6 separate regions of the Homo sapiens genome follow, and all the other regions are linked to region 2. The links are contacts of gene promoters, found by promoter capture Hi-C in blood cells and fetal thymus (Javierre and others, 2016). All regions are on one chromosome and are shown on one strand. The core of a region is centred on a gene start or on the middle of the fragment in contact, and the rest is flanking DNA. Distances in the headings are between cores, read along the strand shown. Region 1 overlaps VAPA (VAMP associated protein A). Region 2 holds the start of MPPE1 (metallophosphoesterase 1). Region 3 holds the start of VAPA (VAMP associated protein A). Region 4 has its middle 43 kb from the start of LINC01887. Region 5 overlaps RNMT (RNA guanine-7 methyltransferase). Region 6 has its middle 2.7 kb from the start of SEH1L.

The links. The method cuts DNA at HindIII sites, captures the fragments that hold promoters and counts their contacts. A CHiCAGO score of 5 or more calls a contact.
Region 1: a fragment that was not itself captured here is called in contact with the fragment with the promoter of MPPE1 in region 2 in 1 of 17 cell types (naive CD4 T cells); the score reaches 5.7 in naive CD4 T cells.
Region 3: a contact is called between the fragment with the promoter of VAPA here and the fragment with the promoter of MPPE1 in region 2, in 6 of 17 cell types (total CD8 T cells, total CD4 T cells, activated CD4 T cells and 3 more). The highest score is 16.4, in total CD8 T cells.
Region 4: a contact is called between a fragment that was not itself captured here and the fragment with the promoter of MPPE1 in region 2, in 1 of 17 cell types (neutrophils). The highest score is 7.0, in neutrophils.
Region 5: a fragment that was not itself captured here is called in contact with the fragment with the promoter of MPPE1 in region 2 in 1 of 17 cell types (naive CD8 T cells); the score reaches 5.5 in naive CD8 T cells.
Region 6: a fragment that was not itself captured here is called in contact with the fragment with the promoter of MPPE1 in region 2 in 4 of 17 cell types (total CD8 T cells, naive B cells, non-activated CD4 T cells and 1 more); the score reaches 7.3 in total CD8 T cells.

Annotation. Positions count from the first base shown.
Region 1 is chr18:9,951,687-9,955,610 of GRCh38, reverse strand. VAPA (VAMP associated protein A) reads right to left here. Exons shown (of 6, transcript NM_194434.3): 6 at 1-1,558. The coding sequence ends at 1,400. Among named protein-coding and RNA genes, the nearest start is that of VAPA, 40 kb to the right of the region's middle. The HindIII fragment of the contact is 9,151 bases long and covers 1-3,924 here.
Region 2 is chr18:11,906,603-11,910,101 of GRCh38, reverse strand. MPPE1 (metallophosphoesterase 1) reads left to right here and starts at 1,785. Exons shown (of 11, transcript NM_023075.6): 1 at 1,785-1,901. RefSeq lists a silencer at 993-1,392. The HindIII fragment of the contact is 5,797 bases long and covers 395-3,499 here.
Region 3 is chr18:9,912,518-9,915,996 of GRCh38, reverse strand. VAPA (VAMP associated protein A) reads right to left here and starts at 1,981. Exons shown (of 6, transcript NM_194434.3): 1 at 1,662-1,981. The coding sequence starts at 1,740. LOC124904245 (a long non-coding RNA gene) reads left to right here and starts at 2,049. Exons shown (of 2, transcript XR_007066284.1): 1 at 2,049-2,285; 2 at 2,664-3,064. RefSeq lists an enhancer at 862-1,479 and silencers at 997-1,786, 1,997-2,046. The HindIII fragment of the contact is 3,402 bases long and covers 236-3,479 here.
Region 4 is chr18:10,581,864-10,585,767 of GRCh38, reverse strand. No RefSeq gene overlaps it. Among named protein-coding and RNA genes, the nearest start is that of LINC01887, 43 kb to the left of the region's middle. The HindIII fragment of the contact is 5,125 bases long and covers 1-3,904 here.
Region 5 is chr18:13,731,178-13,734,874 of GRCh38, reverse strand. It overlaps RNMT (RNA guanine-7 methyltransferase), which reads right to left. Exons shown (of 12, transcript NM_003799.3): 3 at 2,941-3,399; 4 at 276-411. The coding sequence starts at 3,357. Among named protein-coding and RNA genes, the nearest start is that of RNMT, 6.4 kb to the right of the region's middle. The HindIII fragment of the contact is 5,807 bases long and covers 1-3,697 here.
Region 6 is chr18:12,943,351-12,947,267 of GRCh38, reverse strand. No RefSeq gene overlaps it. Among named protein-coding and RNA genes, the nearest start is that of SEH1L, 2.7 kb to the left of the region's middle. The HindIII fragment of the contact is 1,374 bases long and covers 1,254-2,627 here.

The sequences.
Region 1 (3,924 bases), core at 159-2,658, 2.0 Mb after region 2:
GTTCTAAAATCCAATTTCCTTTTCAGGTAGAGCGCATCTTTTAAAAAAAGAGCCAACACACCTATGTTTAAGAATAAAAATTCACTTGTACTAGATTGTATGTAGCTAAACACTGGATCTATTTTCTGATTCCAAAATTTTCTATCCTAGTATGAATAAATGAAGAATAGGACAAACCTAAGTGCAGGAAAGTATCAAACCCTGTAACGCATACTTATACTGAAAATGTGTTTCACATGGTTAACATTTGCAAAGGCTAAAATCATTTTTCATAAAGAAAATTCCACAGGCTTGCTCAGTATTACCAAACTTCCATAATGAACATTATTTTGAGTGCCAAATTGAGCACGAAAAAAACACCTACTTTTAACTATTATGAAATATTATGAAAAGTAGTAAGACTTATTTATTAGGCTGGTTAAAAAGTAATTTAAAACCAAAGAGAGTTAAATCTTCCTTGAGAACATACTCTCAGAACTTAAGAATGGGGTAAATCAGATGGAGCACAGCCATGCTGTACACATCAACTCACTGAAATCACATAACTTCTATTCTCATGGACCTTATTTTCTATTATCTTGAAAACAAACTGATTATAATCTCCCAAAATACCAGTGGTACCTTAAAATTTAATCAACTCCTTTCCTTAACAGAATTAGGACTTTCAATTAAAAATACTGTAATATCCAAGAGGGTTTCAATGCAAGAGAAACCTTTGCATCATAATTTCAAGTGACCATATATAGTGGAGTTCCCTCTAATAACACGACAGACACAAACAAGCTATCGAGCAAGAATCTGTTAACAGTTTTATTTTTTTTTATGTTAAATACCATGGGACAGGATTGTAAGGATGAAAAACTCAGTCAACAACTGCCTCACAAGGGATAAGAAAAATTCTGCCATGATATTAGCAAAGGTAAAGGAGGAAAAATTTACACTGTAAGAGGCACCATTTCCCCAAGGAATACCTCTTGGCATTTCCTGAATGAGTGGGATTAGCAATCTAAATAAATCATATTTCAAGAGGTAACAGCAACAGATAAAATTTAAAGGGATTATTAAAATAACATTTACAAGACTCTGAACAATTCTTGAACTCTTATTAAAACCACAAAGAAAGAACAATTCTTTATTTATGAATTTCATAAAGGACTCAATGTGCAACTGACATCTGCTAGTGATGATCTGGTAATATACAACCTGTCCAGTAGCCGAACAGTTTGTTTTTATTGTGTTTTCTAACCGTAAGAGATCATTAAAGGCAAAGCCTATATGACGCTGTACACACAAAAAAATGGTCACCGTGGGCCATACTACCAATGAAATGGTAGGTAAACAAATCTTTTTCTGGTCAAGAGAAAAAAAAAAAAAGAAACAGCACTCTGCATGCTTCACTCTACAAGATGAATTTCCCTAGAAAGAATCCAATGAAAATGGCTGCAATTACAACAAGAAGTGAAGGAAGAGGACTGGTGACATTATCTCTGAAGGATGCAGTTGAGGTTGATCCAGGTTTATCCGAATGTGCTACCTTTCTGAGCCTTAAACCTTCATCCTAGAAAAAAAACACACACACAAAAGGTTTTTAAAAACAAGCATACTAACGAGACTACTGGAGCTAAAAATCTATAGGGACGGAAAGTAGATTAGTGGTTGCCTATGGCTGGGGACGGAAAAGGGGATTAACTGCTAACCACATAAGGAAACTTTCCGGGGGTGATAGACATTCTAAAACTGAACTATAGTGATGGTTACAAAGTTCTATGTATCAATGAATTGTACACTCACAGTGGGTGTCTCCATGGGATATAAATTATACCTCAATAACACTGATTTTTTAAAACTGGAGCTGAGAAATGTATTCCTAAAAAGCAAAAGTTAGATAGGCTATATTTACCTTTTTTTAAATCCCACTAAAAATATAATTAAAGAAGAGTACTTCCAAGGTGGCCCATGGTATTTAAAATCAGTTACATCCGTCCTAGCCCAATCAGCCAAAAACTACCCAGACCTGTAGTCTGCCATTTGGGTTTACTGACACACTGCAACTAAGGAACCGGAACAGCAGAGGCACAAAAGGGTGTTCTTGCCGTAAACAGAGATATGGTATCACAGAATTTGGGGGAAGGAAACAGTTTAGCGTGAAATTTAAGTAACAGTGTTTTTATATGCTCAAAGCAAAGCAGAGGGCTGTGTGTAAAGTGGTAGCACCAGGTCTCGACTGCAAAGCAGAGAAAGAATACTGTTTCTTCAGAAACTACAAATTTAGATGAGAAATGTACATAGGAAACCCTTATCTGAAGCTCTGCACCTGGACTGGAAAATGAGGGTGCTTCTCTGTGTCAAAATGACTTAGATCCTCCAGTCAAGAGTAGGCTGCTTCATTCTTGCTGATATGGCTTCACACAGCACTATGTCTTTAGAGCAGAAGGTTTCTCAGAAGAAAGCAGAAGTCACTCCAAGCAGGAGGTTGTTATGACACTGTGTGCAATGTGAACCTTGGGAAAAATACTAATACCTGTTAACTACACAGTTGTCTTTATCTCTGTCTGTTAACCAATCTGATAAATGGCAGGACAGTTTTTTACTTTTTTCAGTACAAGGCAATATTTTCTCCCATGATTCCTTTATTGTGCTTATAAATAAACACTAACTAAAAGAGTACACCTAATGGCACAGTTTTATTTGCATTACTGGATTTTCTGGAGTTGGGTTTTTTTGGTCTCATGCTAATTAGTCCTATATAAACAGTAATTCTCAGTTTCAGCTACACATCACAAACATCTACAGAACTTTTAATACTCCTGTGATTGTGACTCATTAGGTCTGGGGCAAGCCTGGTCAACTGTAACTTTTTAAAGCTCACTAGGTGATTCACATGCAGTGTGAATTAAGAACCACAGGGCTAGGGGAATTAAAAGGGATAGTGAACAGACAGGAGCAAGAAAGTGAACCTGGCAAAAAATTATGGTGGGCCTGTGTATAGGGTCTGAAATTCTGTAAGCCAGTGGGTCTTCAAGGGTTTTGTTTTTTTTTTTTTTTTGAGACGATGTTTTGCTCGTCACCCAGGCTGGAGTACAATGGCGTGATCTCGCTCACTGCAACCTCTGCCTCCTGGGTTCAAGTGATTCTCCTGCCTCAGCCTCCCAAGTAGCTGGGATTACAGGCACCCACCACCACACCCGGATAATTTTTGTATTTTTAATAGAGACGGGGTTTCACCACGTTGGCCAGGCTGGTCTGGAACTCCTGACCTCAGGTGATCCACACGCCTCAGCCTCCCAAAGTGCTGGGATTACCGGTGTGAGCCACCCGCCCAGCCCAGCTTTTTTGTTTTACTTTTCCAGCAGCAGAATCATCTCTCAAATAAAATCTCATACAGAACACTAGCATAAAAAGAGTAGAAACCAGGAATAAAGTCTCTCTCACCTACTTCCCTGGTTCACTCTTCCTATTTTCCAGCCCTGCCCCATCTATGTCATTCTCACTGTTTCCACTTCTCCCCTCCCTGCCAGAGGTAAACAGTGGCTTTTGAAAGAAATCTATTGAGCACCCTAAGGAGCACATCTTTATCAAAGAACAGAACTATGGAAGTCATGGCAGATGAAGTAAAAGTAACCAACAACATCCTTTAAAAGATCCATGGCGTGTAGGTGTGAAATAAAGATATTCTTTCCGCTACCCAGACAAGTGCTTGGAAGCAGACGGGTACCCCTCGAGGGGGTACTATGAAACATCAAGCATGAAGAGACACAAAAATTCACTTTAAAAAGCATTTCAGCAAAGGAGTTCACAGATCGACTTAAAACACAGTGCCTTTAATTTAGAGTGTAGTTCCTACATACACCTAACAAAAGGAATAATCAAATAACTCCCATCATTTAGCTTATTTTAGTTACATACATTTTTGTATCATCTACT
Region 2 (3,499 bases), core at 536-3,035:
CAATGTTTTTAAAAATGCCATTTATTTATGTAAAAGTTTGTTTGTCTTAATCATGACCCAAACAAGGTCCACAAATTGCATTTGGCTAATGTGTCTCTCAAGGTCCCCCCACCCTCTTTTTTTTAAAGACATGGGGGGTCTAGCTGTGTTGCCCAGCCTGGAGTGCAGTGGCTATTCACAGCTGTGATCATAGCTCACTACAGCCTTGAACTCTGGCCTTAAGCAATCCTCCCACTTCAGCCTCTGAACATTTATTTTTGAAAAAAGAAATTGGGTCATTTGGTTTGTAGAATTTCCCACATTCTGGATTTGGCAGATTACTTCCTGGTGGTGTAATCTAATGGGTTCATTTGGCCCCTGTATTTCCTTTAGCCTGTGATTAGTGTTATAAGCTTAACTGGTTCTAGTTTCCCTTTCTTTGTTAGTCAGAGAGAATACTTTAGAGGTGAGGCTGCAAACAATCCACGGTGCCATATTAGTGTGTTTATGGAATCAGGCTGTCCCAGTTTCGATTATGTCAAAGTTGTTCACCTGATCATATCTGAAGATATTACAATATTCTTAATAATAATAACCATTTACCGCATACTTATTGTATACCAGGCATTTTGCTGGCTGTGTCCTATATAATTCCTCAAACCACATCTCCGTGTATTAACCACACTCATAGATTTGTGAAAATGTACCAGAATTGACTGGTTGGAAGGCTCTATGTGGATTATTACTCTGAGCATGTTTACTTCTTGAAATATGAAATAATGGCTCCTGCTTTTAATATACAGGCTTATTTTGAGGATTTTTTGAACGGATGTGAGAGCACTTAGAAAACTGGAACGCGCCGCGCTACACCATTAAAATTAGTAACATCAGTGAGAAAAAAGCAAGTGCATAATAAATATTATAGTTATCCTGATTGTCTCCTTTATTCATCACACACTTCCTAAGCACATCTCTGGAGGGCACTTTCCAAGGCTCCGGGGGAGGAGAGGAAAGAGGCGCAGCCAGGCCTGGTGGGTCCCGGAGGGGCAGCGCGGCGCGGGAGGGGAACGGGGAGGCACGGCCTGGCTGCCACCGCGCGCGGAACCCGGGAGCGGCTCCGGGGCTGTCAGCTGCCCGCCTGGCTCCTCCAAGGCCTGGAGCTCGGACGCGGGCTCTGGGGGCTTCTGGGGCGCGGAAGCGGGCTCGCGGGGAGCAGTGGCCGCCCCCGGCCGCCGCGGTGGCTGTGCTCAGAAGCCGGCCCTGGCGTCAGGAGGCCGGGCGCGCGGCGCGGGGCGCGAGTTCCCCTGCCCGCCTGTGCGCCCCGCAACGGGCCTTTCCTGGGCCCTAACGACAGCTCGCCCGTGCTTCGCCCTCGCAGCTCTCCTGTGTCCCCAAAATGCCTTTCCCGCGTCCCCCGCCCTTCAGCGGTGACTGCCCAGGGGACTCTGTAACGCGACACTCAGACTGCCGAGCCTGCCAGGCACTTCGCGGAGGGCGCTAGGGGCCGGGACGCGGCCGCCGAGCGTAGGTTCCGGCCTTTACTCCGAGTTGCGCACGGAGCCCCAGCTGCGGTTGTCCGCTCTGGGGATCACAGGCCGCGGAGACCCGGGAGCCACCCGCCGGGCCCCTTCAGACGACCCGCTTCCGCAAACCGGCCGTGGGACTCCGGCGCCGGGCGGACGAAGCGGCTCCGGGAAGACTCGGTCTTCCCCGCCCGCCTGAGGTCGCCGGGGCGGGGCTTCAGTGACAGGCCCGCGCGCTACCGCGGAAACAGGAAGTTGGCTGGGTGCGCGCCGGCTCCGGCTGCAGTTCCCGGGTCCCTCGGCCACCGAAGCCACCCTGCCCTGGTGAAAGGGCTCCCGCACCGCCCGGTGCTCCCCATCTGCCTGGCGTTGTGCGCAGAGCTGGAAAGCATGGCTGTTGTATGTATTCTTGCGCCCGTGTGACAACATTTAAACTTCTAAAAACGGAACCTCCTTCCGTGTTAGGATTGCAAGTTAACCTAGGAAAAACAGCATTCTGCAAATTATTTGCTGGAAAATCTCGGTGACTTAAGGCCCATGTATTACTTTGCAGGGGTCTCTCACTCTAGTTTGCTGGTGTAGATTTTTTAAAAAATCCATCTTATCAAAAAATACCGTTTAAGGTGGAAAATTTCAAATGCAAGTCGCAGTTGATGAGATTGCAATTAATATATTTAAGATAGTGAATTAGAGAAAAACTACAGGTCAGTGCATATTAAGTATTTTTTTCATATTTTGGGGGGATTAGATTTTTAACGATAACTTTGAAGTTAAAAATTAAAAGATAGGCTGGGTGCCGTTGCTTAGGCCTGTAATTCCAGCACTCTGGGACGCTGAAGTGGGAGGATGGCTTGATCCCAGAGATGCGAGACCAGCCTGGGCAACATAGCAAGTCCCCCGCCCCCACCATAACAACAAAAGTACCAAAAAAAAAAAAAAAAAAAGCCAGGTGTAGTGGCACGCACCTGAAGTCCCTGCTACTCGAGAAGTTGTGGGGGAAAGGATCGCTTCAGCGCAGGAGTTTGGGGCTGCAGCGAGCTGTGACGCAGCCTGCGGTTGACAAAAAGTCAAAACTCTATAAAATATTTGAAGGGATTAATTCTGAGCCAAATATGAGTGACCATGGCTGGTGACACAGCCATTTGGAGACCCTGAGAACGCGTACGCAAGGTGGTCGGGGCCCAGTGTGGTTTTATGCATTTTAGGGGAGCCATGAGTCATCAGTCAAATACATGTAAGATTAAGATGTACATTGGTTCGGTCCATAAAGGTATGACAGCTGAGGAGGTGGGTGGGTCGGGGGTTTCCGGGTTATAGGTAGATTGAAAATTTTCTGATTGGCATTTGGTTGAAAGATTTATTATCAATGGAAAGGAATGTTTGGGTTACAATAAGAGGCTGTGGAGACTGAAGTTTTATCATGCAGATGAAGCCTCCAGGTAAGTTAAGTGTCCAGCATGTTAAATGCTGGTCTGCTTTTCCTGAATTCTAAAAGGGAGGAGGATGAAATGTGTCAAGTTCCACCCCCACTTCCCATCATGGCCTAAACAAGTTTTGCTTAAAACAACCTAAAACAAGGTTAACTCTGGAATGCCCTTGGTGGGGTCCATGCAGATGGTTGAGGGGTCTTAGGATTTCATTTTTGATTTACAATGGGCGGTGGAGTGAGACCCTATCTCTAAAAATAAATAAATAAATAAATACAAATTGAAAAGTTCAAAGATAAATTTTTTTTTTTTTTTTTTGAGACGGAGTTTCGCTCTTGTTGCCCAGGCTGGAGTGCAATGGCGCGATCTCGGCTCACTACAACCTCCGCCTCCCGCATTCAAGCGATTCTCCTGCCTCAGCCTCCCGAGTAGCTGGGATTACAGGCATGTGCCACTACCCTGGCTGATTTTGTATTTTTAGTAGAGACGGGGTTTCTCCATGTTGGTCAGGCTGGTCTTGAACTCCCGACCTCAGGTGATCACCCACCTCGGCCTCTCAAAGTGCTGGGA
Region 3 (3,479 bases), core at 732-3,231, 2.0 Mb after region 2:
ATTAAAAAAAAACACACCATACAGATTTACATTAAATTATCTCAAGATAATGGCTGAGTCAGGACTCTTCATAATTCCTCAAAGGTTTTCCCCCAGCTACAACTACGTAAAAATCACACAACTTACATAAACTTGCAATAAAATACATTCACTGCACCTTAAAACCAAATCCTTACCCAACAAGTAGCTCACTTACACTTCTATTCAAAGAAATTTGTAAACGCACTAAAAAGCTTGCAATGTAGTTATGCAATATTAATCTCATAATTCCAGAATATATTTTAAATTCCTAAACCTGAAGTTTTTCCTATGGAAAACAATGTAGTTGGCTTTCTCTTGGACTCAGCCTTACACAACAATAAAGGATTTAATTTTTTCTTTTAGCACTAGAATTGCTATACACCTCACAAAAATTGTTCTCATTCAACAATTGAAATACAAGACATAGACTTCCAAAACGGGACTCACTTTACACTTAACTAAAGATAGGAAGGAACCTACTTTCTATTAGATGTTCACACTCTTTCAGTATTCCTTAAAAACAAAGAAAAAAAATAAAAATCTGTACATTTTAACTCTCTTTCCTAAAGTACACTACATATTGACAAGGAAACCGACCAAAAGCCCCTGGGATTCTTCCAGGATCACCAAGTCAGACTAAAAAACTTATCACAGGCAGTACTACAAAAACCTACAAAGTTCCAGAGCTGGGTGACACCTTATCAGCCTTCTCAGGATCTGTCGGAAACCGCAAACGTAAAAGCAAAAAAGTCACACGCACTGAAGGTTTCTCAGCAGAGGAGCTCAACTAAAGGGCTAAATAAAAGCACGCGGGTGGCACACTGAAATGTCGTAGAAGGCAGGAAGCCCCGCTACTATGAACCTACAACTCTCCGTTTGCGGCTGACGCATCGCTCCTGCCCGCACGCACCTGGGTCCGTGCCAACAGCACCGGGCAGCCCTCGCCAGGCACCTCCAAGGACTCTCCACCTCCCCGGCGCGTCCTACACCTGACGGCCGAGTTCTAAACCTGGCGGAAAGGTGACAAGCGACGCCCTCCGCGGAACCCGAGGGCCGGCTGCAGCGAGCTCTCCCCGGGCCGGGGCAGGGGTCGGGGGGCGGCTCTCACTCCCAAGGGGTCCCGCGCCGTGCCCTAGCCTCCCCGCGCCGCTGACAGCCGGGAGCGGGCGACAGACGCAGCTTGCGCCACCTCCAGAGCCCACTCCCCGCCGCAGCCCAGAGCGCACGCCCTCGGGTGCCCAGCCGCCCACGCCCCGCCGAAGCACGCCGTCGGCCTCTGGGGCCAAGGACGCGGGCCCAGGCGGACCGCGGCGCGGGCGGGACCGGACGCCCAGGAGGCGCCCCCGCGGGACCGCAAGATGGCGGCGGCGGCGGCGCCAGGGCCGGGCTCCCCTCCGCCTCGCCCCGGCCGGCGCGCGCACCGCAGCGAGGGCGGGCGGGAGGGGATGAAGCGGGCCGGAGCAAGGGGCAGGCCGGCCGAGGTGGCGGCAAGAAAGCAGCCGGGAAAGGGAAGGCGCCGGGGCGTGGGGGAGGGGGCGCTCCCTCGGGCCAGGGCCGCGGACGTGCCCTCCGCGCCCCCCCGCCGACAGCCAGCGGTCCGCGCGCCCCACCCCACCCGGGGGTGTCCCCGTTCTGCCTACCTTTGAATTTGAGGTCTGTGGGCGGATCGAGGACCAGGATCTGCTCGTGCTTCGCCATGGCCCCTGAGGCGGACGCCATCGGAGAGACAGCGCAGAGCGGGGGCGCGCCCGCGGCGGCGGTTTGCTGACTGGGGGCGGGGGACGACGGCGGCGACGGCTCGGCCGAGCTCTAGGACGAGGCCAGGCTCGCGGCTCCCGAGCCCTAACGCCTGCCGCTGTGTCACCGGTTCGGTGGGCCACCCGCTGGGTCAGCAGCTCCGGGTCCCACAACTGACTCAACCCCACACCAGCCGCCACGGCCACGCGCACTTGCGAGCCTCGGCGACCCACGTGACGGCCTCTGCGTGCCTACGTGCGCGCCCCCGGCCGGGAGCTTCTAGCGCTTGTCCCGCCCTCCAGGCCGGCCTAGCGCGGCGCGGGGCTGCTGCGCCTGCGCGCTCGCGGCTTGCCGCGGCCCGGAGCGCAGCCCAGCTGTCAAGGGAACGGGTGTGGAAGGAGGCGGGGCAAAGGTCCGCGGGACCGACGCGATGCGCAGCGCAGGGCTGGAAGCGCAGTCCTCTGTCACCTTGAGCTCCGAGTACGGAACTAGAGAAACTGCTCTGGCAGCGCATCACACTCTTCCAAGTGGGAATGCCCAGTGGAAGGGACAAGTAGTAGTAGGGAAGCGCCCACTCACTACAACTCCCGGCATGCCCCCTGCGGGGCGGGGCCTTCGCCGAGGGCCTGGCCCTTTGCGGCCCTGCGCGGTGCTTGCTGGGAACTGTAGTAACGGCTGTTTGAGGGTGGAAAGGAGAGCTAGGTCTGTTGGAGGCAATGGGGTGGGGTTCGCGGACGCTAATTTTGGCTCTCAGAGCGCGTCTAGTTTGCGCTAAAAAAGAAAAAACTTGAAGACTGAAACGAGGCCCCAATGTTAGAAATATATTAATAAAATCTGCCCTGTGGAGAACAGGCGTGGGGGGATGTGTCCGTTTGCTCTAATTCTATCCAGTCCTCTGTTGGCAGGGCTGCATTCCCCGTGGTATCCAATTCAGCCTCTCCTGCTTCCTGAGTTCTCTCCAGTGATGCAAAATCAGATAAGGAAACACACCTCGTCTAGGAAGCAAGGGGAAATATGACAAAGCACACAGAAACTAGAAATAAAAGTCAAAAATCTACACCATCGAACCCAAATAATCTTCTTCAGTTTTAATGATGGACCCAAACCAAAACAGTTCTCACGTTCACATGTTAGAAACTAACTCCATCTGCATCACTTACGATAGGCTGTAGTAAACTGAACCAAATAAGAAAAATCCCAGCAGCAAACTTGCTGACAAAACTTTAGCCGATTGCCAGGGTAGTCCGGTACAGGAACGTCAAATGAAACCAATGTGCTGTAAATAAACCTTTATTGTATTTTGTGATACGGTTTGAATTTAAATCCCTAGGTAGCGCCACGAAACAAAAGACATATTGATGCTACTGCCATGGAGCAGCACAGTTTGTCTAGAAAATAAACGAGACGAAACAGCAGTCTAGAAGTAGGCACCAAATCCAAGTTTTCATGTGCGATCCAGGTATTAGGGTCCATCCAGGAACAGCCTGCTGGAATTGCTAGCCTGGCATTCACAGAAGATTGTGCCACCCACGAGGAATGTGTTTTCAGCCCTGAAATTCCTGGGAGTGAGAGGTGAAGCCAGCTGGATTTCTGGGTTGGGTGGGGACTTGGAGAACTTTTCTTACAAGAGGATTGTAAAATGCACCAATCAGCACTCTGTAGCTAGCTAGAGTTTTGTAAAATGCACCAATCAGTGCTCTGTAAAAACGCACCTATCAGCA
Region 4 (3,904 bases), core at 1,238-3,737, 1.3 Mb after region 2:
CTGGAGAAGTGTGGGCCAAAGAATATTCAACTCCAAAATTATGTGCATATATTACATTAACAAAAATAATAAATTCATTATTTAAAGACTCACAAAGTATCAACAGAAACTAAGGATTAAATAGTCCTGAAATAATGACATACTTGATTTTACAGCTTGTTAAAATTCAGCCTTCAATACACACACATACATACACACACACACACACACACATGAAATGGAATCAACACCAAGTTTGGTGCAGAGTAGACAATGAACTCCAAGGGTACAGAAGATTTACATGTTCATCTAGGCAGAAGATCCACATGACATACAAGGGGAATAACTGGGCTGGGCTCAGATTCCTCCAGTGCAATATTCAATGCCAGAAGCCAGTGCAGTGTTATTTAAAAGGTTTTGAGTGGGAAGAGTGTCACCCAAAATTTTCATACTTAGCCAAGTTGTATATAACGTAGAAAAAAAAAAAGGCAGATGCTGTCAAGCAGGCAATACTTCAAGAATTCCATGAGCGCTTATTGGAAAAAGAAAAACTGAATGATGAAATTTAGCCAATTGAAAGATGAATCAAAATAATTTTTTTAAAAAAGGAAAAACTGTAGTCAAAGACTAGTGGTGAAATGCTGATCATCACTAATCAGAGAAAAGCAAATCAAAACCACAATGAGGTATCATCTCACCCATTAGAATGGTTTATTATCCAAAAGACAAAAAATAACAAATGCTGGTGAGGCTGCAGGAAAGGCAAACTCTTATACACCATTGGTGGGAATGTAGATTTCTACAGCCACTATGGAGAACAGTATGGATGTTTCTCAAAAAACTAAAAATAGAATGACCAGAAGATCCAGCAATCCTACTGCTGAGTATTTATCCAAAAGAAAGGAAATTATTGTATCAAAGAGGTATCTGCATCCCATATTTATTACAGCTTTTATTCATAATAGCCAAGATATGGAATCAACCTAAGTGTCCATCAAAGGATAAGCGAGGAAAGTAGGATACATATGCACAACGGAATATTATTCATCCATTAAAAAGAATGAAATCTTGTCATTTGCAGCAACATGTATGAGACTGGAGGTCATTATGTTAAGTAAAACAAGCCAGACATAAAAGCCAAATATCATATTTTGTCATATGTGGGAGCTAAAAAGTGGATCTCATGGAGGTGGAGAGTAGATTGGTGGTTGCCAGAGGCTGGGAAGGGTAGAGGCGATAGGGGGATGAGGAAAGGTTGGCTAATGAGTAGAAAAACACAGAGAGAAAAAATACTATCTTCTGTTCAATATTAGAGTAGGGAAATAATAGTTAATAGTAATTTATTGTATATTTCAAAATAGCTACAAGAGAGGATTTGTAATGTTTCCAACACAAAGAAAAGATAAATGTTGGGGGTGACTGACATCCCAATTACCCTGATTTGATCATTACACATCGTATACATGTATGAAAATATCACTCTTACCCCATAAATATGTACACTTATTCCAGGTCAACTAAAAAGAAAAAGAAAAAAAAAAAGACTGGTGGTGAGTTCTAAATCTATCAACTATAAAACTAAGACTAAAGAACTAGAAAACTTTGGTGAAAAAAGAGAAGTGTTAGGAACTTTGAAAATAGAAAAATTTTAATATAACTTTTTTTTTTTGAGACAGAGTCTCCCTCTGTTGCCCAGGCTGGAGTGCAGTGGTGCGATCTCGGCTCACTGCAAGCTCTGCCTCCTGGGTTCACACCATTTTTTTTTTTGTATTTTCAGTAGAGATGGGGTTTCACCGTGTTAGCCAGGATGGTCTTGATCTCCTGACTTCGTGATCCGCCTGCCTCGGCCTCCCAAAGTGCTGGGATTACAGGCATGATTATATAACTTTTTAAAAGTCAGGACATTTTAAGAAAAACTATTCAAGGACCCAAGATTGTACCAATTGCCCCATATTTCAGAGCTGAGAATCAACAGAAAATGCCTAAAAATGCTTAAAATAGTTAGAAATACAAGCATAAACAATCCTTTTTAAATTTGAGAAGAATCTTACAGAAATGAATACCTCTGATGAAGAAACATTTATCTGAATTTCAACAATTATTTCATTTTTTTCTTTTATTAAATTCAATGGCGATTGTTATAACTTTATTTTTAATTAGTAAACAGAATCCTATATAATAATGTGTTTATCTATTGACCCTTTCACCAGTATCCACACGGAAAGGAGACTGGAGTGATAGTCACAAAGGTAACGTTTATTTCTGAATAATAAAATTTGAATGAATTTTTTTTCCTTTGCACTTTTTGGGTTGCTTGATGTTCTTTTCTTTTCAAATGAACAAAAATTAAAGAATTTCCACAAAACAACAACTAAAAAGAAATATTTACTAAACCAGTTATTTTGTGTGAGACATTATGTGTGGTTAAGAACTGTGGAACTCTGCATGGACTTCTAGTTGGAAAGGCAACATTGATGGGGATGGGAATTATGATGATGGAATTACAGAGAGATAAATAGGTGATACACAGTAAAGATACGTGATGGACAAAAAGCTAAGCAGCCAATTAGATAAGGAAATACAGAATGTCACAGGGATACTGGGCCAGAACACCTTGCATCTATATCTGTATTATTCATTGATTTGTTCAGTAAGGAAAATAAAAGCAGAAAGATTTCTTGGCAGTAACTGTATCCTCTAACTCACCAACTGAGCAGTAAAATATCCCTCCTCAGTGCTATTATTAAAATGTTTCTCTAATTTCTTCATCTATAATACCAGGAACCTAACGTTATGCTAATTTTCAGATTATTGTTTTGATAAAGAGGATTTTATTTTCAGATTGTAATATCTACACATTGAAGGGGAGACAGCTGTTGATCTTTTAGCTTAGGCACACAGGCATAAAAGGAAGGCTGGTTTCTCAGGTCAAGAGGCCATCGCCACCATTCACCTGGTGAAAGGAAGCTGAGCCAGGGAGGAGGGCCACAGTGTGGGTGATGAGGGGCACCTCACTTTCAAGGGGCCCCATGACACTCCCGGCTGCTGTAGTGTTCATTCTGGTGTGCACGTGCTCAGGAAGTCAAAGAAATAAAATCAGTAATTTTTTTTCATGCTTCATCTCGTATGTGTTCAACTCTACCCCTTAAATTTTGAGTTGTTCGAAATAAAGAGCCTTCCCTCATGTATGCATGGGAAGAAAATATCCTCTCCCAGGCCCCATGCACAGTCCCGCTCACTCTTCTGCGAGCAGTGAGAGCTGCGGGCAATATAACACTGAAAATTGTCCTTAGTCTCTATGTATTTGTTTCTCTGATCCGAATAAGCAAGCAAAAGCCCACAGGCCATGCGAAAATCCCTCCCAGGGAATGTGCAGTGATGGCTGCCTCTTCCCAAGCCCTGCCTTCTTCCTCTGTGAACACAGAAACCATACAGATGTGGACACACAACCGGAAATGCCACCCCATCAAAATGGAAAACTAAGTGGATAAATTGTTGAAAAGCCAACTTACAGACTCTGAGGAATGCTGGATTGAAAGCACATTTGTCTTCTGTTTCTTTTTTCTTTTTCTTTTTTTTTTTTTGAGATGGAGTCTCACTCTTGTTGTGCAATGGTGCGATCTCTGCTCACTGCAACCTCTGCCTCCCAGGGTCAAGTGGTTCTCCTGCCTCAGCCTCCCAAGTATCTGGAATTACAGGCACGTGCCGCCATGCCCAGCTAATTTTTGTATTTTTAGTAGAGACAGGGTTTCACCATGTTGGCCAGGCTGGTCTCGAACTCCTGACCTCCAGTGATCCACCCGCCTTGCACTCCCAAAGTGCTGAGATTACAGGTGTGAGCCACCATGCTTGGCCTCATCTTCTATTTCTTCAGCATTTTTCTGTGGAATTTTGGAAAAGACAAAGTCCATTCCCAGGAAGGAGC
Region 5 (3,697 bases), core at 631-3,130, 1.8 Mb before region 2:
ATATGCAGTTGCTCCAAAACTATTAGAGTAAAATAGAATCATTACTTAATAGTACTAGGTAACCTTAATTCTGTGCATTAAAAAAAATATTGCCTTCTGAAAACCTGATTAACATAATAATTAAACACTCATTAAAATCTTACACAGTCAACCAAAAGTAAATATTAGAAGAATTTGTCTTCAAGACCTAGTCTTGGCTCTAGCTTTATAAAGTCAAGGTTTGATAATTAAATGAATAGGAATTAAAGACTCAGTAGCTTGGTGTTGGATCATACCAATGAGAACACTTTTCATCCAATTATTAAAGTTTCTTAGGTAAAAAATACGACTTTGACTACGCTTCTCCAAACCAACTTCCTGAAGTTCATTGTAATGGGCAGCCACTGTTGAGCTGTGTCCTTCTTCCAGATTCTGAAAATAAAAGAGAATAGAAAAAAATCAAGGATCAGAACATGGTAAAAATAAGCCTCAGAACATTTGACCTGTGAATGGATAAAATGCTATTAGAATTGGTAAACTTCACTAAACAATGGCAATTAACCACAGAAGTCTCACTAATTATCATTAGACCTAAGATTTGTTTTCTGTGTCCCTGTGTATCAGTCCATTTTAATGTTGCTGCTAAAGACGTACCGGAGACTGGGTAATTTATAAACAAAAAGAGGTTCAATGGACTCACAGTTCCTCGTGGCGGGGGAGGCCTCACAATCATGGTGGAAGGTGAAAGGCAGGTCTTACATGGCGGCAGGCAAGAGACAATGAGAGCCAAGTAAAAGGGGAAACCCCTTATAAAACCATCAGATCTCGTGAGACTTATTCACTACCATGAGAAAAGTATGGGGAACTGCGCCCATGATTCAATTATCTCACATCAGGTCCCTCCCACACATGTGGGAATTATGAGAGCTATAATTCAAGATGAGATCTGGGTAGGGACACACCCAAACCATATCACCTTATTTTGAAAAACATCTCTAGGTTTAAAATTTTCATTGTGATATTTCATCTGCATTAATTTTAGTGTCAATGTCTTAATAAACCCAGTACTCTTCCAGAGTTCTGATTTATTCAGTTCAATAAATGACAGTCAATGTTTGGTGTTTCTACAAAGGAATAAATTAGGAATAAGCTATAATTACATTATTATTATAAAGCTGTTGTGAAAATTAAATAAGATAATGTATATAAAGAGATTAGGCCTGGGTGAGGTGGCTCATACCTATAATCCCAGCACTGTGGGAGGCCCAGGTGGGAGGATCACTTGAAGTCAGGAGTTTGAGACCAGCCTGGCCAACATGGTGAAACCCTATCTCTACTAAAAATACAAAAATTAGCTGGGCATGGTGGTGCACACCTGTAATTCCAGCTACTCAGGAGGCTGAGGCAGGAGAATCGCTTGAACCCAGGAGGTGGAGGTTGCAGTGAGCCGAGATCGGGCCACCGCACTCCAGCATGGGCAACAGAGCGAGACTCTCAAAAAAAAAGAGAGATTAGAATTCAGTAGGCTATGTGCAGCGTTAGTGATTTCTATTATAATAATGCTATTATATATGTTACATGTAACCCAACAGTTTTCAATTTGTGCTTCCTGAGGCCCTAGAAATCCTGTAAAAATGCCATGATAGGTAAAGGGCTTCGGATCCTCCTACCTCCCTTTTCAGCCAAAGTGCTGAATCTCACTGATGTGCTGAAAGGCCTTTCAAACAAATCCTTGACCTATTTTACGTAACAGGTTTAAGTGTAAGATTTTCAGTTGAAAAAGGGGTTCTGGGGCTAGTAAAAGTTTGAAAACTATGTTTAAAATACAAGCTCCCAGCCAGGCGCAGTGGCTCATGCCTGTAATCCCAGCACTTTGGGAGGCTGAGGTGGGCAGATCACAAGGTCAGGAATTCAAGACCAGCCTGGCCAATATGGTGAAATCCCATCTGTACTAAAAAACACAAAAATTAGCCAGGCATGGTGGTGGGCACCTGTAGTCCCAGCTACTCGGGAGGCTGAGGCAGGAGAATCGCTTGAACCCGGGAGGTGGAGGTCCCGGGAGGTGGAGGTTGCAGTGAGCCGAGTTTACACCACTGCACTCTAGCCTAGGAGACAGAGTGAGACTCTGTCTCCAAAAAAAAAAAAAAAAAAAAGGGGGGGCTCCCCTCTGTTACAAGAATTCACATTCCATTGATGACAAAAGCCTCACTATCAGTCACTTTCCTCATAAGGGCCAATGGCAGAATTTTATTTACTCATTAAAGTAATCTTTTCCTCTAACTCCAGATTCTGCCTCAAATTCCTTTCTAATGTGGTACTTCCAGATGAAAACAACTTGCCCTATAATATCTTTGCTAAATATTAGGCATTTGCATTCACTTAACTAAAACAGTATGTAAAATACATTAATAAGAAGCTGAAAACTGTTTAAGGAATTACATTAATAAAGGGATGTAAAGCTAGGTATAATTTTAAAAGTTATCCCTTTAAGTGATAACCTCTGACAAAAAAACTAGAGCTGAACACCTAATAAAAAAGAAAAATAGGTAAATCATTTGGATCTCATACTCTAGTCTTTTTAAAAACGCCGGAGGACTGCTTATGCCCAGGAGGTTGTGGCTGCAGTGAGCTTTGATTACACCATCACACTCCAGCCTGGGCGACAGTGCAAGACTCTGTCTCGGAAAAAAAAGTTTCTAGTTAAATATTCTAAAATAAGATAAACATTATCTCATTAGAAAATAAAAACAAACAAAAACTAAAAAATCTATCTCATTAGCAGGAGATGTTTCACCTTAACAGAAATCATAAGAGTTAAAAGCCTACTTTGTCTTAGGACCATATCTATTAAAAATAGAACATTCTTAAGCTATTATGTAAAAACCAGTATGAATCCACGGGTGTTCCACATTTCAAACTTACATATTCTATTATGAATAAATGAAAATACACTGAACATACTTTCTGCTTTTCAGGAACATCCTCAAGTGCTATTTTTCTCTTATTTTGAGTGCCATCTCCAGTAGAAGATTTATCTTTTGGAACATCCTCAGTTTCTCTTTTTCTTTTCTTTGAATTGCCTTCAGCATCACCACAATCTTTTTCCTCTGGGACAATTTCAGGATCAAGTTTTCTCTTCTTGGATGGAGTGTCTTTCCCACAACTAGAACTTTCCTTTACAAGATCATCTTCAAACTCTTTTCTCTTTCTTGCTATGTCTACTTGCCTACAGACAGAAGTCTTTTCAGAAAGCCCAGTCCCAGAAGCTGTTGTGTTTTCATTAATATTGAATGAAGACTCTGTTTCAGAATTCACTGACGCTTTTGCCTGTTCAAGAGACATCTTTTCATATTCTTCTGCTTTTGCAGAATTTGCCATTTATGATTACTTGAATTGATGGTAAAACTTCATGAACCAACACTAGAATAGGAAAAAAATTGGTATTACTTGTAAACACTAAGACTTTAAAACAATTTTTTTTTTTTTTGAGACGGAGTTTCACTCTTGTCGCCCAGGCTGGAGTGCAATGGCATGATCTCGGCTCACTGCAAGCTCCGCCTCTGGGGTTCAAGTGATTCTCCCGCCTCAGCCTCCCCAGTAGCTGGGATTACAGGCACCTGCCACCACGCCTGGCTAATTTTTTGTATGTTTAGCTGAGACGCGATTTCCCCACGTTGGGCAGGCTGGTCTCTAACTCCTGACCCCAGGTGATCCGCCT
Region 6 (3,917 bases), core at 691-3,190, 1.0 Mb before region 2:
TAGGAGCCACCACGGGGGTAGGGAAATAGTATGAATTAGAAGAGTCCGCCTGTAGAAACGTGTCATCCCGGGGGAAGGAAGCGGCCGGGGAAGTGGGCTGCTTGCTACCCGGGAGCCAGAGTCCTCCGGGGAAAAGGAAGTGAAGAGGGCCAGAGCCCCTGGGAAGAGGCCTGGCTCAGATCAAGGATTCTGCCAAAACCGGAAAGTGGAGGAGCCAACGACTCGGGGGGTTTTGCTTATCAGGAAAAGGCATTCTAGAGGGCGTAGTGGTAAAGTTAGGATGGGAGACAGTGGAAGCTTGCGTCAGGGGAGCGAAAGTACAGAAAAAAAAAAAATGAGGCTGCAGAAGGGACTTGCCCTTTGGATTTTGGCCAGGAATGACAAAAATGTGAGGTATGGTAAAATTAGCAGGCTGGAAAGTTTTTTAAATGATTAGTCCCAGCTGTCCCCTGATGGATTGCACAGAAACCTGCAAAGAGAAGTGGCGCAATGACCTGACCTTTTTCAACCATAAATAAGATTTTATTGCTACTTTAAGAGGTGGGCCCCACCTCTTATGATAACTGATAACAACTATAACTTTTTTGAAGGTCAAAGACACTCATTTCCAAAGAAAGTGCTCACTATAAAAGTCCAATCAAAATATATTGATTATTATAAAAATATCAAAACAGTTTAAAAATTGTTTTAATTAAATTTAAATACAGACAGTAAACAGATCATTGGTTGCCAGAGATTATCAGAGTGGGAGTGAAGTGTTGAATTAGGTGAAACAGTGGATTTTTTAAAATAGACTTTAGTTTTTAGAACACTTTCAGGTTCACAGCAAAATTGAGCAGAAAATAGAGTTCCCGTATGTACCCCTACTGTCACACATGCACAGCATCCTCCACTGTCAACATCCCATACCAAAGTGGTACCTTTGTTATGATCAGTGAACCTACATTGACACATCATTATCACCCAAAATTCAGAGTTTGCATTAGGGTTCACTCTTGGTGTTTTATTCTGTGGGTTTTGGCAAATATATAATGACATGGATCCACCATTATAGTATCACGCGGAATAGTTTGACTGCCCTGAAAATCCTTAGTGCTCCTGTTCATCCCTTTCTTCCGACAACACCTGGCAACCGCTGATCTTTCCACTGACTGCATGGTTTTGACTTTTCCAGAATGGCATATAATGGGAATCTTGGAGTGGCTAGCCTTTTCAGATTGGCTTCTTTCCTTATAGTAATATGCATTTAAGCTTTCTCCATGTCTTGTCTTGAGAGTTCATTTCTTTTTAGTGCTGAATAATATTCCATTGTCAGGCTGTAACAGTGTTTATTCATTCCCCAACTAAAGGGCATTCTGGTTGTTTCTGTGTTTGGGCAATTATCAATAAAGCTCCTACAAACATCTGTGTACAGGTTTTTGTGTGGACATGTTCGCAACTCCTTTGGGTAGATACCAAGAAGCATGATTGCTGGATCATATTGTAAGAGTAAGTTTAGTTTTGTTTTTTGGGGTTTTGTTTTGTTTTTTGAGACAGGGTCTCACTCTGTCATGGCAGACAATCGTGGCTCACTGCAGCTTTAAATTCCCTGGGTTCAGATGATCCTCCCACCTCAGCCTCCCGAGCAGCTGGGACTACAGGCACAGTGCCACCACACCCAGCTAATTTTTCTGTTTTTTGCAGAGATGGGGTTTCACCATGTTGAGCAGGCTGGTCTCAAACTCTTGGGCTCAAGCGATCCTCTTGCCTTGGCCTCCCAAAGTGCTTGGATTACAGGCATGAGCCACTGTGCCTGGCCTGGTTTTATAAGAAACTTACAAACTGTCTTCCAAAGTGGTCGTGTCAGCCAGGCCTGGTGGCTAAATTACCCTGTAATCCAGCACTTTGGGAGGCCGAGACGGGCAGATTATCTGAGCTCAGGAGTTCAAGACCAGCCTGGGCAACGTGGCGAGACCCGCTTCTCTACTAAAAATACAAAATAAAAATACAAAAAAATGCCCCAGGAGTGGTGGTGGAACCGAGATTGTGCCACAGGACTCCATCCTGGGCAACGCAGGGAGACACTATCTCAAAAAAAAAAAAAAAAGAGAGAGAGAATTTAACACAGGAAACTGGTTACATATATATCCAAGGGGTTAATTAAGAGCAAAAAGGGAACATGTGAGATTACCCAGAGACTAGTAACTACGGGAAACTCTGGGCTGGGAGCGTGAAAGGGAAAATAGTTTTACCCAGTGCTACCATCATTGACTCTGAGGCTGCTGACATTGGCACCTTTACCACCAGCAGGCAGAAAGCCAGGAGCCAATACTCCAGCTTACACTGCAGGCGTCCAACAGAGTAACAGCCATGGGAGCCCACAAGCTCTGAACAGCTGAGGTTCCTGGAGCCTCTGCTAGTACTGCTGGAGCTAGGGCTGAGTGCTGCTGCTACTGCTGCTGTTCACATCACCCCCGAGCAGGAAGCCAGGCTCACCCATTGCCACCACCACCACTACTCAGCTATGTGAGCTGCCTCCACAAATTGGAGAAAAGGTCTTCTTCCTCCTGCATCTGAATCCCCTACTGTCTCTCAATTCAGAACCTAACTAGAAATAGAGAGCTAATAAGAGTCTGGAAAAACAAGCTTGGAGGTTTCCAGTTCATATTCTGGAAAGAATACGACCTACAGTGAAGGCTGGGCGTGGCAGCTCACACCTGTAATCCCAACATTTTGGGAGGCTGAGGCGGGCAGATCACTTGAGGTCAGGAGTTCAAGACCAGCCTGGCCAACATGGTGAAACCCCGTTTCTACTAAAAATACAAAAATTAGCTGGGCGTGTTGGTGAGCGCCTGTAATCTCAGCTACTCAGGAGGCTGAGGCAGGAGAATCGCTCTAACCCTGGAGGCAGAGGTTGCAGTAAGCTGAGATTGCACCGCTGCACTCCAGCCTGGGCAACAGAGCGAGACTCCATCTCAAAAATATAAATAAATAAATAACCTACAATGAGTTAAGAAGCTTTCACATTTTTTTTCCTGCTCTGCGCCAGTTTAAATAGCATAGGAACTGAAAGATTCCTATGAAGATTTTGTAGAAGATTCCGTGAAGATTTTGTAGATGACGTTCACAAAATTTTATCAGCCTCATGCCTTGGGTGATGATAGGTATAGTTAATTTTAACTACCTTTTAAAATTATTTTATTCATGGCCTCTTCAGATTTTTTACCTTTTGTCAAGACAATTTTGATCATTTATATCTTCCTTTAAAAAATCAGCCATTTTGTGCTGGGCATGGTGGCTCATGCCTGTAATCTCAGCACTTTGTGAGGCCGAAGTAGAAGCATTGCTTGAGCTCAGGAGTTCAAGACCAGCCTGGGCAACATAGTGAGCCCTCGTCTCTACAGAAAACAAATTAGCCAGGTGTGGTGGTGCACGCCTGTATTTCAGCTACTCAAGAGGCTGAGGCAGGAAGAGGATCACTTGAGCCCAGGAGGCAGAGGTTGCAGTGAGCTGAAATCGTGCCACTGCACTCCAGCCTGGGCGACAGAGTGAGACACTGTCTCAAATAAATAAATAATCAGCCATTTCACTGAAATATTTAAACTTATTAATATAGAGTTATATATGTTAATGTCTTGCAATTTCTAAAGTCTCCATATCTGATGTAAGGCTTTTTTTCTTATTTCCATTGCTTTTTGTCTTACTGCCTTTGTCCTTAACATTTTGCTTTTTAATGAAGTATAATATAGATTCCAAAATGTACACGTATCACAAGTGTACACAGCTCACTGGATTTTCACAAACTGAACACATCTGTGCAGCCATCATCACCTCGAAAAAGGGAGCATGACTCACACCCTTAAAGCTCTCCTGTGGTCCCTTCTGGTCTTTACACCCCTCCCCAAGCAGTAACTACCGACCTCCTTCCTAACAGCATA